Linked DNA regions of Homo sapiens: region 1 is linked to region 2. Evidence: promoter capture Hi-C in human tissues and cell types (Jung and others, 2019). All regions are on one chromosome and are shown on one strand. The core of a region is centred on a gene start or on the middle of the fragment in contact, and the rest is flanking DNA. Distances in the headings are between cores, read along the strand shown.

What was found. The method cuts DNA at HindIII sites, captures the fragments that hold promoters and counts their contacts. A contact is called where the count stands out against the background at its distance.
Region 1: a contact is called between a fragment that was not itself captured here and the fragment with the promoter of ARID3B in region 2, in 1 of the 25 tissues and cell types used here (spleen).

The regions. Positions count from the first base shown.
Region 1 is chr15:75,756,547-75,762,708 of GRCh38, reverse strand. It overlaps LOC101929408 (a long non-coding RNA gene), which reads right to left and starts at 4,167. Exons shown (of 4, transcript XR_932487.3): 1 at 4,082-4,167; 2 at 580-686; 3 at 282-367. It overlaps MIR4313 (microRNA 4313), which reads left to right and starts at 394; the gene lies at 394-494. The HindIII fragment of the contact is 5,413 bases long and covers 427-5,839 here.
Region 2 is chr15:74,538,287-74,544,342 of GRCh38, reverse strand. ARID3B (AT-rich interaction domain 3B) reads right to left here and starts at 3,123. Exons shown (of 9, transcript NM_006465.4): 1 at 3,013-3,123; 2 at 1-483. The coding sequence starts at 406. LOC124903528 (a long non-coding RNA gene) reads left to right here and starts at 3,255. Exons shown (of 2, transcript XR_007064719.1): 1 at 3,255-3,445. RefSeq lists enhancers at 2,128-2,187, 3,538-3,687, 3,262-3,803, 3,738-3,867 and silencers at 2,177-2,361, 2,878-3,237. The HindIII fragment of the contact is 13,134 bases long and covers 737-6,056 here.

The DNA of each region.
Region 1 (6,162 bases), core at 1,884-4,383, 1.2 Mb before region 2:
TAAGTTCAGTTTCTGTCAGCTCCCAGCATCATTTCTAGGGTTGGTGGGAGGCAGCTGGGAACAGGCGAGGGGTAGGTGGGGCCTGCTTGAGGGAGTCTGCTTGACTGCCTGGGCCACTGCCCAGTACTGGGGAGCTTTTCTGGCACACCAACTGCACCACCCAGGTGCTGCCCACAACAGCCCCTGGGGAGTGTTTGCAGAAGGCCTTGGCAGGGGGCGCGGTGGACCCCACCCAGAACAAACAATTGGGGTGGGGTCAGGGAGAACCGCCCTCCACTTACCTGTCTGGAGAGGGTCCTCTGTACCACACTGTGTGCTTCTACACACCCAGGCTGAACACCCCATGGGAGGCCCTCCACTTTAGCACCTTGACAAGAAGGGTGGGGACACTGGGATCAGGCCCAGCCCCCTGGCCCCAAACCCTGCAGCCCCAGCTGGAGGATGAGGAGATGCTGGGCTTGGGTGGGGGAATCAGGGGTGTAAAGGGGCCTGCTCACTCCTCAGCTTGGCTCAAGGCTCAAGGCATCAAAGGCTCAGCCTGCCCCTCAGGAAGGAGCCTGGGCCCAGCCAGACACTCACCAGGACAAGGGTGAATGTGACGAGCAGGAGGCCTAGAATGAGGAGAGCCACAGCATAGCCGGGGATGGAGGCATCCAGCAGGCTGGAGGCTTCAAGGCTAGCAGTGCCTAGAGCAGACCAAGAAGGCTATGGCCAGGTGGGGCCCTGCCTCCCAGACTTCTGAGAAGGCAGAATCTGGCACCAGAAGTTGCTGCGGGACCAGAGAGCTGGGGCTAGGAGCATCTTGGAGGGCTCCATGAGGAGGGGAGGCAGGTTTCAGATCAGGGCATGTAGAGGCAGCAAGCCCAAGGGAGGAGGCAGATGGACAGAGGGAGGGGGCCTGCAGAGGGAAGGAGGTACTGACCGAGGTCTGAGATGACCGTGTCTACCAAGAGGCCCTCTGCCTCCCCCAGGGTGTGCAGACCCACACGAGAGCCTGGGCTGATGCCGCCCTGAAGAAGGTGGCACCCACTCTGACGGTCAGTGGGTCCAGCCTGGTGGGAGGATCATCCCACTTCAGGGGGCTGGGCAGCCTGGGGGGCCTAAGGGAGGTCATCTCTTCCAGCCTCCTGCCTTCAACCCCAGAACCCAGGTCTGAGCCCTGGGTCACCCAGGGCCACCCTGGACCCACCGGAATTCCTCCACCACCACTGGTCAAAGTTCTGCAGAGATCTGAGGACGAGGGTCAGCTGGGGGGTCAGGAGAGGATGAAGAGGGTCACAGCTCTACCAAAGTCTTGTCCAGTCATCCCCCATCTTCCCGAGGCTTCTTCCCCGCCCCCCCACTTCATCCCGCCACTTCACCCATCTTGTCGGTTGCCCCTGAAGTGCCCAGAACTCAAGGCTGGTTTTGTCCTCCAAGGCCTTGGTGTAGGGCTGGCCCAGGATCTGCAGCCAAACTTCATACAGCACCAGCTCTGCCTTCTCCCCTAGAGCGACAGGGGTGGAGGTGGCATCGGCCTGCATCCCCTCTCCTGGAAGCCCTGGAGTGGGACACACACCCAAGCTCTAATGCTCCATCCAGGGGTCAGCTGCTGTTGGTGTAAAGGCCAAATTTCTTGCTGCCTGCTTTTGTGTGGCCCACGCGCTAAGAATGGCTTTTACATGTTTAAATGGTTGAAAACATGGAAAGTAGAGTCGTATCTTGTGACACATGAGAATTACGTGAGATGCAAACTTCCATGTCCATAAAGAAAGGTTTCTGGGAATGTGGCCACGCTTATCTGTTGACATGTTGCTAGGGCTGCTTTCTTGCTACAGGGGAGGGTTTGAGTAGGTGGTGACAGAGACCCAGTGGCCTGCAGAGCCTTAAAGAGTTCCCATCCGGCCCTTTACAGAAAACGCTTGCTAACCCCTGCACTGATCCACCTAATGGAATACACTGCCCACTCCGTGAGTTGATCCTAGTAGGAAATGTTGCTGATAATTTAACAGCTGCTGCTTTTATGTTTTATTTTGTCCCTGCTCTGGTGGGAGACATGTAAGAAAATTCACTCCCTGGGAGGAGGTCATGGTGGGGCTTGTGGCCATCAACGGTGAAGCCTCTTTAAGAGGATGCGTGGGGAGCTCTACCATCTGCTGAGAGGGTTGTGAGGGGCCCTCTGTGTTGAGGAATGAAGAGGGAACGCTGCCTGTGTGCTGGGAGCTGGCTTTCTGGGGAGCAGAAGAGATGGTGGTTCGGGCCTGCGGAGGCAGAGGCCCAAACCAATCTGGTCTCTGGGGCTGCCGGCAGGGAGAGTAGTTGTGTAGGAGTGGGTGCAGGGGCAGAGCCTGAAGGAGGGCACCCCTGACTGCACCCCCAGGAGGCTGTGGTGGTGGGGGTGGGGCAGCACTGTAGGAGGACCAGCGCCTTCTGTGGCTGAGGGGTCCTTGGAGAGCAGCTCCAGGCAATGCGTAGCTGGAGGGGACTGATTTGACCCAGCGCTCTCCTAAGCCACAATGCCCGGCCTAATGTACTGTTTATTTAAAATTCTAAGGATCTTTAATAATTTTAATAAGGATCTTTAAATAATTTTCCATGGATCATATTTTTATTGCATTTTAAAATAATTTACAATTTGCTTTCACACATATTCTCCCTCATCTGATCCTCACAACTGCCCTGGGAAGGAGGTTGGAGACAGAGTTGGGGCCTGTTAGGAGACAAATTTACACAATGCATAAGAAAGCTCACTGTGAGCCGGGGTGAAGAAGGGAGGCTTGGAGAATCATGAATGCAGTATCTATGTCTATATTCCCAGCCCAACCACAAAGCCTGAAATTCATTTAGGTATTTAAGAAATAGCTGCTGAATTATTGCCTAGGGGTGCTCAGCTCAAGAAGCAGGGTTGAGACTAACAATCAAGCTTCCTGACTCCTAGCCCAATACTTTTCCAAACACACCACCTATTTTTCTGTATCGGATAGAAAGTATAGTGCTTAAGTTGTACATAATGTTAACTCACTTTCAATACAGGCCAATCATGATTGACTATCAGTAGCTTTTGTGACAAACTTAGTAAACTAGGAAGTTGAACCTTTCAGAGTTCCCCTTCTCATGTCATATGCTATTTCTGTTTTGAAATAAAAATCCTTCCAAATGAAACTTTATCCATCAAAATGACAAGAGAAGTGAAAATAGATACAAGAAGAAAATAAAACATTAATTTCAACATGGCTTTGTCTATTTTGCTTTAAAAGTATAACCACCAAGCCATTCTATTTTTAGGAAGACACATTCTTTTTGGAATGTTAAAAACTATGATAACTATTCTTAAGTCCTAAATGACCAGTATGGGTATTAGTAGATAACTGGACACAGTGCAAGGTCAGAAGGGTGACTGAGTGTGGCAGAAAGGGCAGTATCTCCAGCAACTGCAGATGGATAAATGACAATGAGTCCAGATAATGGATTATGATACAACCATTCAAATAATGCTTATGAGTACTTGATAACATAGGCAAAAGCTTAAGATACAATGTTTTAGACAGAAAAAAGGGAAGGTGGAAAAAAATAGATGGAAAGCATGACTTCAATCATGCATACTGATGCTTCCACTTTATTTTTATTTTTTGAGACAGGGTCCCACTCTGTTGCCCAGGCTGGAGTGCAGTGACATCATGATCTCGGCTCACTGCAGCCTCTACTTCCTGGGCTCAAGCAGTGCTCCCACCCTAGCCTCCTAACTACCTGGGACTACAGGCATGTGCCACCATGCCCAGCTAATTTTTTGTATTTTTAGTAGAGATGGGGTTTTGCCATGTTGCCCAGTCTGGTCTCAAACTCCTGAGCTCAAGGGATCTGCCTGCCTCGCCCTCCACAAGCCGGCCGGCCTGCTCTGTCTTACCCGCCCCCCCACTCCTGCCCCCCACTCCTGCCCCCGTCTCAGGAGCGGGATGGCGGTGGACTCTTCTCTACCAGACCTGCAGCCCTCACACCCGCACACACTGTGTTTGCGGAGAGGCCAGTGAAGACACCCTCCCCCCGTTTCCGGAGCCACTGTCGCCCCCTCATTCCCGCTCCAGCAGCCCATGCCTCGCTTCACCTCTGGTGCCTCACCATCAGGCCAAGAAGCCAGGGCCCGGGAATTTCTTTTTCCGGTGGCGCCAGGTCAACAGATTCGACGATCACGTGACTTGGACAAACGGCCTCTGGGAGGGCGGGGTCTGCTCGAGTGAGGCCGGAAGCGGACCACAGCCCGCAGGAGGTGCTGGAGGGCGAAATGCTGGCGTCTCCTCCTATGTCTTCCAGAATCCTTCCCTGGAAAAAAAGCAGCGCCCACCGCCAGTTTAACTGAGGACCGAATTAAGACATTAGGAAAGACAGTGGAAGTTATTTCATTTGTTTAACTTAAGGGGGTAGGATCCCGGGAGCCAGGGGGATTCAGGTCATTGCCATGTTTTCCACTGTTAAGCGAATAGCATTATACACAGCTGCGGGCTGCGGCAAAAGACATTTTAAAAACTATTGAAATCTACTACACATGCAGAAAATTGTACCTATTAGAAATATAAAGCTTAATAAGTGTTCATTAACTGTAGACCTCACATAACCAGCACCCAGATAAGGAAATAACCAGATAACTTCTTCAAGTGCATGGGTGTTTTATTTCATTTTGATGAATTGTGTAGGTGCCTAGCAAAAAGGGCTGTCATAATTAACATGCTCAGGAAAACTCCCTACAATTTCAACATCAATAGATGCTTATTTTTTGCCAGTCTGATGGGGGAAAAAATCCGTTGCTTAGATTGCAGTGGTAGTCTGCTTACTGGTAGCTCTGAGCTAATGGGTTGTCTAAAACAACTAAGTTTCCGACATTGACTTGAAGAGGCAAAAACAAAAAGACAAAACAACAACAAAAATACATTAGAGAATAGACTAATAACCAGAGAAGAAATTGAATACAGTTGTCCCTTAGAAACCTCAGGATATTGGTTCCAGGACCCCAGAGATACCAAAATTCACAGATGCTCTGATATAATATGGCATAGTATTTGCATATAACCTATGCACATCCTTCCGTAGACTTTAAATCACCTCTAGATTACTATAATACTTAATACAACGTAAATGCTTTGTAAATAGCTGTATGAAGTATTTTTAAATTTGTTTTTTTATTTTACTTTTTCCAAATATTTTTGATGCACAGTTGGTCAAATCCAAGGATCCAGAACCCGAGGATACAGAGGGCTGACCGTAGTTTGAGCTCTCTCCTCAATTCCATGCCTATCCCATGCACCAGGTGCAGCTGGTTTTATTGCAGGCTTTCAGGTTTTCAAAAGACAGAGCTCATGACAAGTAAACTGCTCTATGGAATAGAAAGAAATGGAAAATGTCCCAATTCATGGTAAAATTGAACTCATTTCTGAAGAGTTCTTTTACAAATCATAAGCACTAGCCTGTTGAAAACAACAGTATGTTAAGTTACTAGACTATCCTATACCATGTCAAAGAAAAATTTTAAGAACATAAGACCTTTAATCATAGCACTTTGGGGGACCAAGGCCAGTGGATCACTTGAGCCCAGGAGTTCTAGACCAGCTTGGGCAACATAGGGAGACCCCAGTCTCTACAAAAAATTAGCTGCTTCTGCTGGTGCACAAGTGTCGTCCCAGCTACCTAAGAGGCTGAGGTGGGAGGATCTCTTGAGCATGGGATGTGGAGGCTGCAGTGAGCCATGATGGTACCTCTGTACTCCATCCAGCCTGAGCAACAGAATGAGACCATCTCAAAAAAAAAAAAAAAAAGGAAAACAGAAAAAAAAAAAAAAAAGGCTGGGTGCGGTGGCTCACGCCTGTAATCCTAGCACTTTGGGAGGCCAAGGCAGGCAGATCACCTGAGGTCAGGAGTTGGAGACCAGCCTGGCCAATATGGCAAAACCCGTCTCTACTTAAAAAAAAAAAATAGCTGGGCATGGTGGTGGGTGCCTGTAATCCCAGCTACTCGAGAGGCTGAGGCACGAGAATCGCTTGAACCCGGGAGGTGGAGGCTGCAGTGAGCTGAGATTGCACCGCTGCATTTCAGTCAGCTTGAGCAACAGGGTGAGACTCCATCTCAAAAAAAAAAAAAAAAGACGTAAGAATGGTTCAACTTTTATTTCATCCTATCAATAGGTTAAAGAAGAGA
Region 2 (6,056 bases), core at 1,874-4,373:
GTGCCACTCTGGGATCTTGGCGAGCTACTTTCTGCACATGAAAATATTTTGAAGCAGCCTGGGTTTCTTTCTCAGCCACCTCTGCAACTTCATCATCCCCATCCTCATCTTCCAAACCTCCGTCCTCTTCCTCAGGCTCTGAGTTCATGTTGCCCCGTTCAAACACTTGGGCCACTGCTGCGGTGGGTGGAACTCTGGCTAAGGGACCTAAGGGAGTGCTGCCAGAAGGTCTCCCAGCTGTGGCGGAAAGGAGAGTCGGCTGTGTGACCAGCTTTTGGGCATACAAGAACTGGGCTTCTCTCATCTGCTGGCCCTGCTTCTCTCTGGCATCCATCTGCAGAGGAGCCAGGTGTGGCTGCTTCTGTTGTTGCTGCTGCTGCTGCTGCTGCTGCTGAAGTGGCTCCATTTTTGCCTCAAGCTTCACCCACAGAGTGGCATGACTCTGAACCTGGGCACAGCCCACCAGGCACACTGGGTCTAAACCTTAGTGATTAACAGAAACCACAAAGAAGGAGGGGGAAAAAACAACCATGTTAAGCAGGTATAAAAAGGTTTCCTTTTCTCCAGTAGAGGGCCATGAGTTCCGAACGCTAAACATATGCTCCTAAACCTGAGTTTTAAGATGAGTGAGTGGTGGGGGTTTCGTGGGTGGGTAGGAAAAGGTGTGAAGAAGAGAAACAGGATCTAAGAGGGGAAATAGGGAATGAATTTCAGTAGTAGTAGCAGGCTTTAAAAGAAGTACATCCAGCCAATATCTAGTCTGCTAACGTGTTCTGATCTCTCTTCCTCTACATTATCAAACATTAATCTGTTACTGAACTAATGTTACTGAACATTAATTACTGAAAAGGTAACTGGGTTTGCACTGTAGCAGAAGCATAATTATGCAAACAACAATAATAAAGGAAAAGAAGGACCTGCCTGCAAAGGAGAGAGTATGTTCCCAAGCCCACAGGAGAAAGATATCACCTCTAAGCTAGACACAGAACTATCAGGCAGACAGTTTTACTCTCATAGAAAAAGCAAGACCAAGCAAGCTGCTCTTGGGTCTAAGCTTTTCAAATTTCCCTGATCAAATTGCCAGCCTGCTTGTTGAGTGGACTGAGCCATACTAACTGGACATTATAGCCTCAAAAAGAATCCAATTTCAACAACATGAAAGAAACACGCAAGGAGGCAAGAGTCTCAAATTGCAATCGTCACTCAAAAGCAAACGGGGGAATTCCTCTGGAGATTTTAAAGTTAATTAATTTGAAACAGATATCAACATTGTCTGAACAACAAGTTAATGCTGCTTCTTTTTTATAAACAGCGAAGTAAATCTCTTCACATCCCCTTTCTTTCTGATTCATTTCTATTATGATATTCTCTGACAAACACAAAAAGAAAAGTCTTTCGGGCCAAAAGCATTCTGGGGGCAGGTTTATCTGCATTCTTACCAATCAGTCTCCAAACACACATCACTTTCACACCCTCTTCTCCTTTTACTCCCCCACCTCTCCCCTGCAGGCCCTCACCCCCAACAAACTTCACTTGAGTTATGTTTCTTCAGCAAGTCTCCATAACTGAATGGATTACTATGCAAGGGCAATTTTAGGTGAACAGGACTTGCAACATGGCGTACAATTTTGTCATCACATGAAAGAAGCTGCACTGCACATGTTGGGACTTGATATCTGCATTGTTCCAGTGTTTTAGGATTGGGTCGAAAGACAAAAAACAAAGTGTCTTTAGTATCTTCAAAAATTCACGGAGAAGTAATCACATCTTCAGCAATAAAAACTGCTTGGATTTAAGATTTTTTCCAGGTTAGAGTAAAAAAGGGTACAATTTTTAAAGCTAGGCCAATTAGTAGAGATTAAAAATTCTCATTTTCTGTTTATCTTATAGCCCTGTTTGTGCCTTTTGTGTTCTGTGAAAGATTCGCATTCCAATTTGCCTCTTACTGCCTTTACTTCCTCTCTTGGCACTTCAGAAAGTGTGAGTTACGCTTGCAGCAATACTTTCATTCTGCTTTAGCTCTTCTTACAGTGTAAAAAAGCATGACAAGATTTACATCCACATTAAATTCAGTTGGCAAAAGTGTTCATTTAAAATGAAAACAATTTGGGTCAAAGAAAATTACAGAATAAAGCAAATAATTCGGTGTTCATTTTAAATGTCCTCATAGTCATTACAGTCAATCAATCACGATCGGAATAACTTCTCAACCAAGTCCTGCCAGTCACTGAACAACTGCTTCTTGTCTTGTGGCACCATCTTCTCTGAATGCTGTCCCCAGCAGAGGGGGAGGTGTCCCTCCCACAGCCTCTTATAGTAAGACTGAGATGACTCAGTTCTACAACTCAATACACACACCCTCCCCCAAAGAGCCCATTTTCCCGCAGTCCCTAAGCAGCCAGCGATCCAAACAATGCCACCTGCCTACATTTGGAGAACTTATGTCTCAAATCTAAACCTCTTCATCCCTTCACACGGGCCCCTCCCCCATTTCCCCTAAAGTTCCCGGACCACCAAGCCGGGTACAACGGACTACCTGCAGCTTTGAACCCGGCCTGCTGACCATTCCCCTGCTTTTGCTGCCGGATTCTTTTGGCCCCGGGCCCCTGTAAGCCCCACAGCCCACCTTCCCGGTCACCCCTGCACGCCTCCCCCCATTCTTTATTCACCTCCCCCCATTCAGCCCTATCATTTTTACCTCTACCAACCCTCCCAGCCAATCCGCTGGCTCTTCCGATGGCCCCCGCCCCACCTATCTGCGCGCCCACTCAGCTCCAGGGCCCCTCACCCTTCTCATCGCTTTATCTCAAACGCTTTATCTCAAATGCCCTAATGGGCACAGGGCGCTCGGGGCTCCCGCGGCGCTCTCACTTTCCTTCGCGGTCCCCGCGCCCCCGACTCGCGCATTCCCCTCTCTCTCTACACCTGCCTCGGCTCCTGGCCTCGGCCCCTCCACCTGTCGCAGCCTCCTCTCCCGCCATGCCTGAGGGAGCCCGGACCCGGGCCACTTACCTGTGCGGGGCACTCCGGGTTTTCGGGCGGCGGAGGAGGCGGCAGCTCAGGCCCCGGCGCGGCAGCTGCGTCTCGGACTCCTCCGCAGCCGGGGGCCACAGCCGGGGCGGGGCCCGCACCGGAAGCGGCGCCGCGGGGCTGGACCGCCAGCCAGGGGCGGGGGCGGGGGCGGGGCGGGGCCACAGGGGGCGGGGCGGGACCGAAGCCGGAAGCTGCTAGAAAGGGACCGGGGGGCGGGGTGGGACGAGGCGGAAGTGACTCCTACGGACCGCGCAGCCCGACTGAGTTGTGGGAGGAAGCGAATGGAAGCGGGCGGAAGCCTCGGCCAATGGCAAAGTGCGGACACAGAGGGGTTCCGGTGTGAGCACTTCCGCGGGGAGTTGAAAAGAGCTGGGCGGGAGATCGTGTTCTCCGAGCGTTTTCTATTGCGGAGGTTGGTGTGGCTTGGGCGGTTGGCTGGGAGGAAAGTAACTAAAGAGCAGAGGAGTGTAGGGTTTGCCGTCGCTTCGGTCCCCTCCTCAATCTCCTGCCTTCAAGCCGGTCTTCCTCAGAGGTTCTCGTGTTTAGATCAGCTTGTCTCTAAACTTCTCCGCTCCTTCCTGGGACAGAGACCTGGCTGTCCCGAGAATGTTGCGTCCCTTGAAACTTTCTCACATGAATTAGTATTCTCAGGTCTCAGTTTGCAGAGGTCGGGATTATGTGCCAGGTGCTGTCACCTCTTGTAAAAACACTTGCTTCTTCAGCCCTTCCCCTTAGACTCTGTCACCTACTTCACCCCGTTTGGAGATAATCTGCCGATCTGTGTATCCAGCTCCTTGTCTGTCTCCCGTCTGACCATCTTTGATAATTTCAGAGCCTATGTGGCCAACCCATTCAACATCGGGCCTCGTCTTTAGCGACCCTTATATCAGCCTCCCAATCCCAGTTAAAACCTGGACCTTGTCCCTCCAAACGCTATCGCGTCACGACTCAGTAATTTGAACAACCCTCTTTTCAACCACAGCCTGCTATTCTCTCAGCTTGACTACTTTTGAATTATAGGCCTGATGCAGTAGCTCACGCCTGTAATTTCAGCACTTTGGAAGGCTGAGGCAGGCGAATCTCTTGGGCCCAGTAGTTGGAGAGCAGCCTGGGCAACAAGGCGATACCCCATCTCTACAAAAAATACAAAGTTTAATGAGGCGTTTTGGCGCATGCCTGTGGTCCCATCTACTCGGAAGGCTGAGGTGGGAGATCACCTGAGCCCAGGAGAGGCGGAGGTTGCAGTGAGCCATGATTGTGCCACTGCACTCCAGCCTGGGTGACAGAGACACTGTTCCCCCCCCCCAAAAAAAATAGAATTACAGCATAACTGTTATTACTGTTATTTCACTTTTTTTTTTTAGAAGGAGTCTTGCTCTGTCGCCCAGGCTGGAGTGCAGTGGCGCAACCTCAGCTCACTGCAACCTCCGCCTCCTGGGTTCAAGCAATTCTACTGCCTCAGCCTCTCGAGTAGCTAGGATTACAGGTGTGCGCCACCAAGCCAGCTAATTTTTGCATTTTTAGTAGAGACAGGTTTCGCCATGTTGGCCAGGCTGGTCTCGAAGTCCTGAACTCAGGTGATCCGCTCGCCTCGGCCTCCCATAGTGCTGGGATTACAGGCGTAAGCCACTGCACCCGGCCTGTTCTTTCACTTTATCAGAGCAGAGCATCTAATCGGTTGAAAGCCTCTACTTTATCTCTTATACATTAATCCCCTCTTCACTTCCTTCCTTATCCATTTTAGATTCAGTGGTACATTAATACAGTCCTGCCCCTACTTAATCTTAATCCCACCACAACACTCCTTTTTCCCCAACGAAATCCCTCACCCTGGATGGACCTATGTGTTTCTCCTTGCTTGTACCTTGTCATAGAAAGTTGTCCTGTTGCTGGGCGTGGTGGCTCATGCCTGTAATCCCAACACTTTGGGAGGCCGAGGTGGGCGGATCACGAGGTCAGGAGTTAGAAACCAGCCTGGCCAATATGGTGAAACCCCGTCTCTACTAAAAATACAAAAATTAGCTGGGTGTGGTGGCGCATGCCTGTAGTCCCAGCTACTGGGGAGGCTGAGGCAGAAGAATCGCTTGAACCTGGACGGCGGAGGTTGCAGTTAGCCGAGATCACGCCACTGCACTCCAGTCTGGGTGACAGAGCAAGATTTCATCTCAAAAACAAAAAAATTGTCCTGTTGAGGCCGAGCACGATGGCTCATGCCTGTAATCCCAGCACTTTGGGAGTCCGAGGCGGGTGGATCACCTGAGGTCAGGAGTTTGAGACCAGCCTGACCAACATGGTGAAACCCTGTCTACTAAAAATACAAAAATTAGCCGGGCGTGGTGGTGAAGACCTGTAATCCCTGCTACTCCAGAGGCTGAGGCAGGAGAGCTTGAACCTGAGAGGAGAGGTTGCAGTGAGCTGAGATTGCATCATTGCACTCCAGCCTGGGCAACAAGAGCAAAGCTCCACCTCAAAAAAAGAAAAAGTGTCCTGCTGAACAGATTGGCGTCACTACATTAATAAAGACCAACTTTAAATGGACTGTGGGTCAGGTGCGGCGGCTCACACCTGTAATCCCAGCACTTGGGAGGCTGAGGTGGGTGGATCATGAGGTCAGGAGTTCGAGACCAGCCTGGCCAACATTGTGAAACCCCGTCTCTATTAAAAATACAAAAATTAGCTGAGCGCAGTGGCAAGCACTTGTAATCCCAGCTACTTTGGAGGCTGAGGCAGAAGAATTGCTTGAACCCGGGAGGTGGAGTTTGCATTGAGCTGAGATCGCGCCACTGCACTCCAGCCGGGGTGACAGAGCAAGACTCCGTCTCAAAAAAAAAAAGGACTGTGAACTGTGACTAGAAATTTCATTATATTTTTCTAGTCAACTTGCTCTCCACGATCTCTACAAATCTCTGACCTATACCCTTACCACTTCCCCTGACTTCCTTATCATGTAAGTAACAGAAAATGTAGAATGTCCTGAAATCGAGAAACCTACTTACTTGCCTTCCCATCCTGTCCTTACCTCC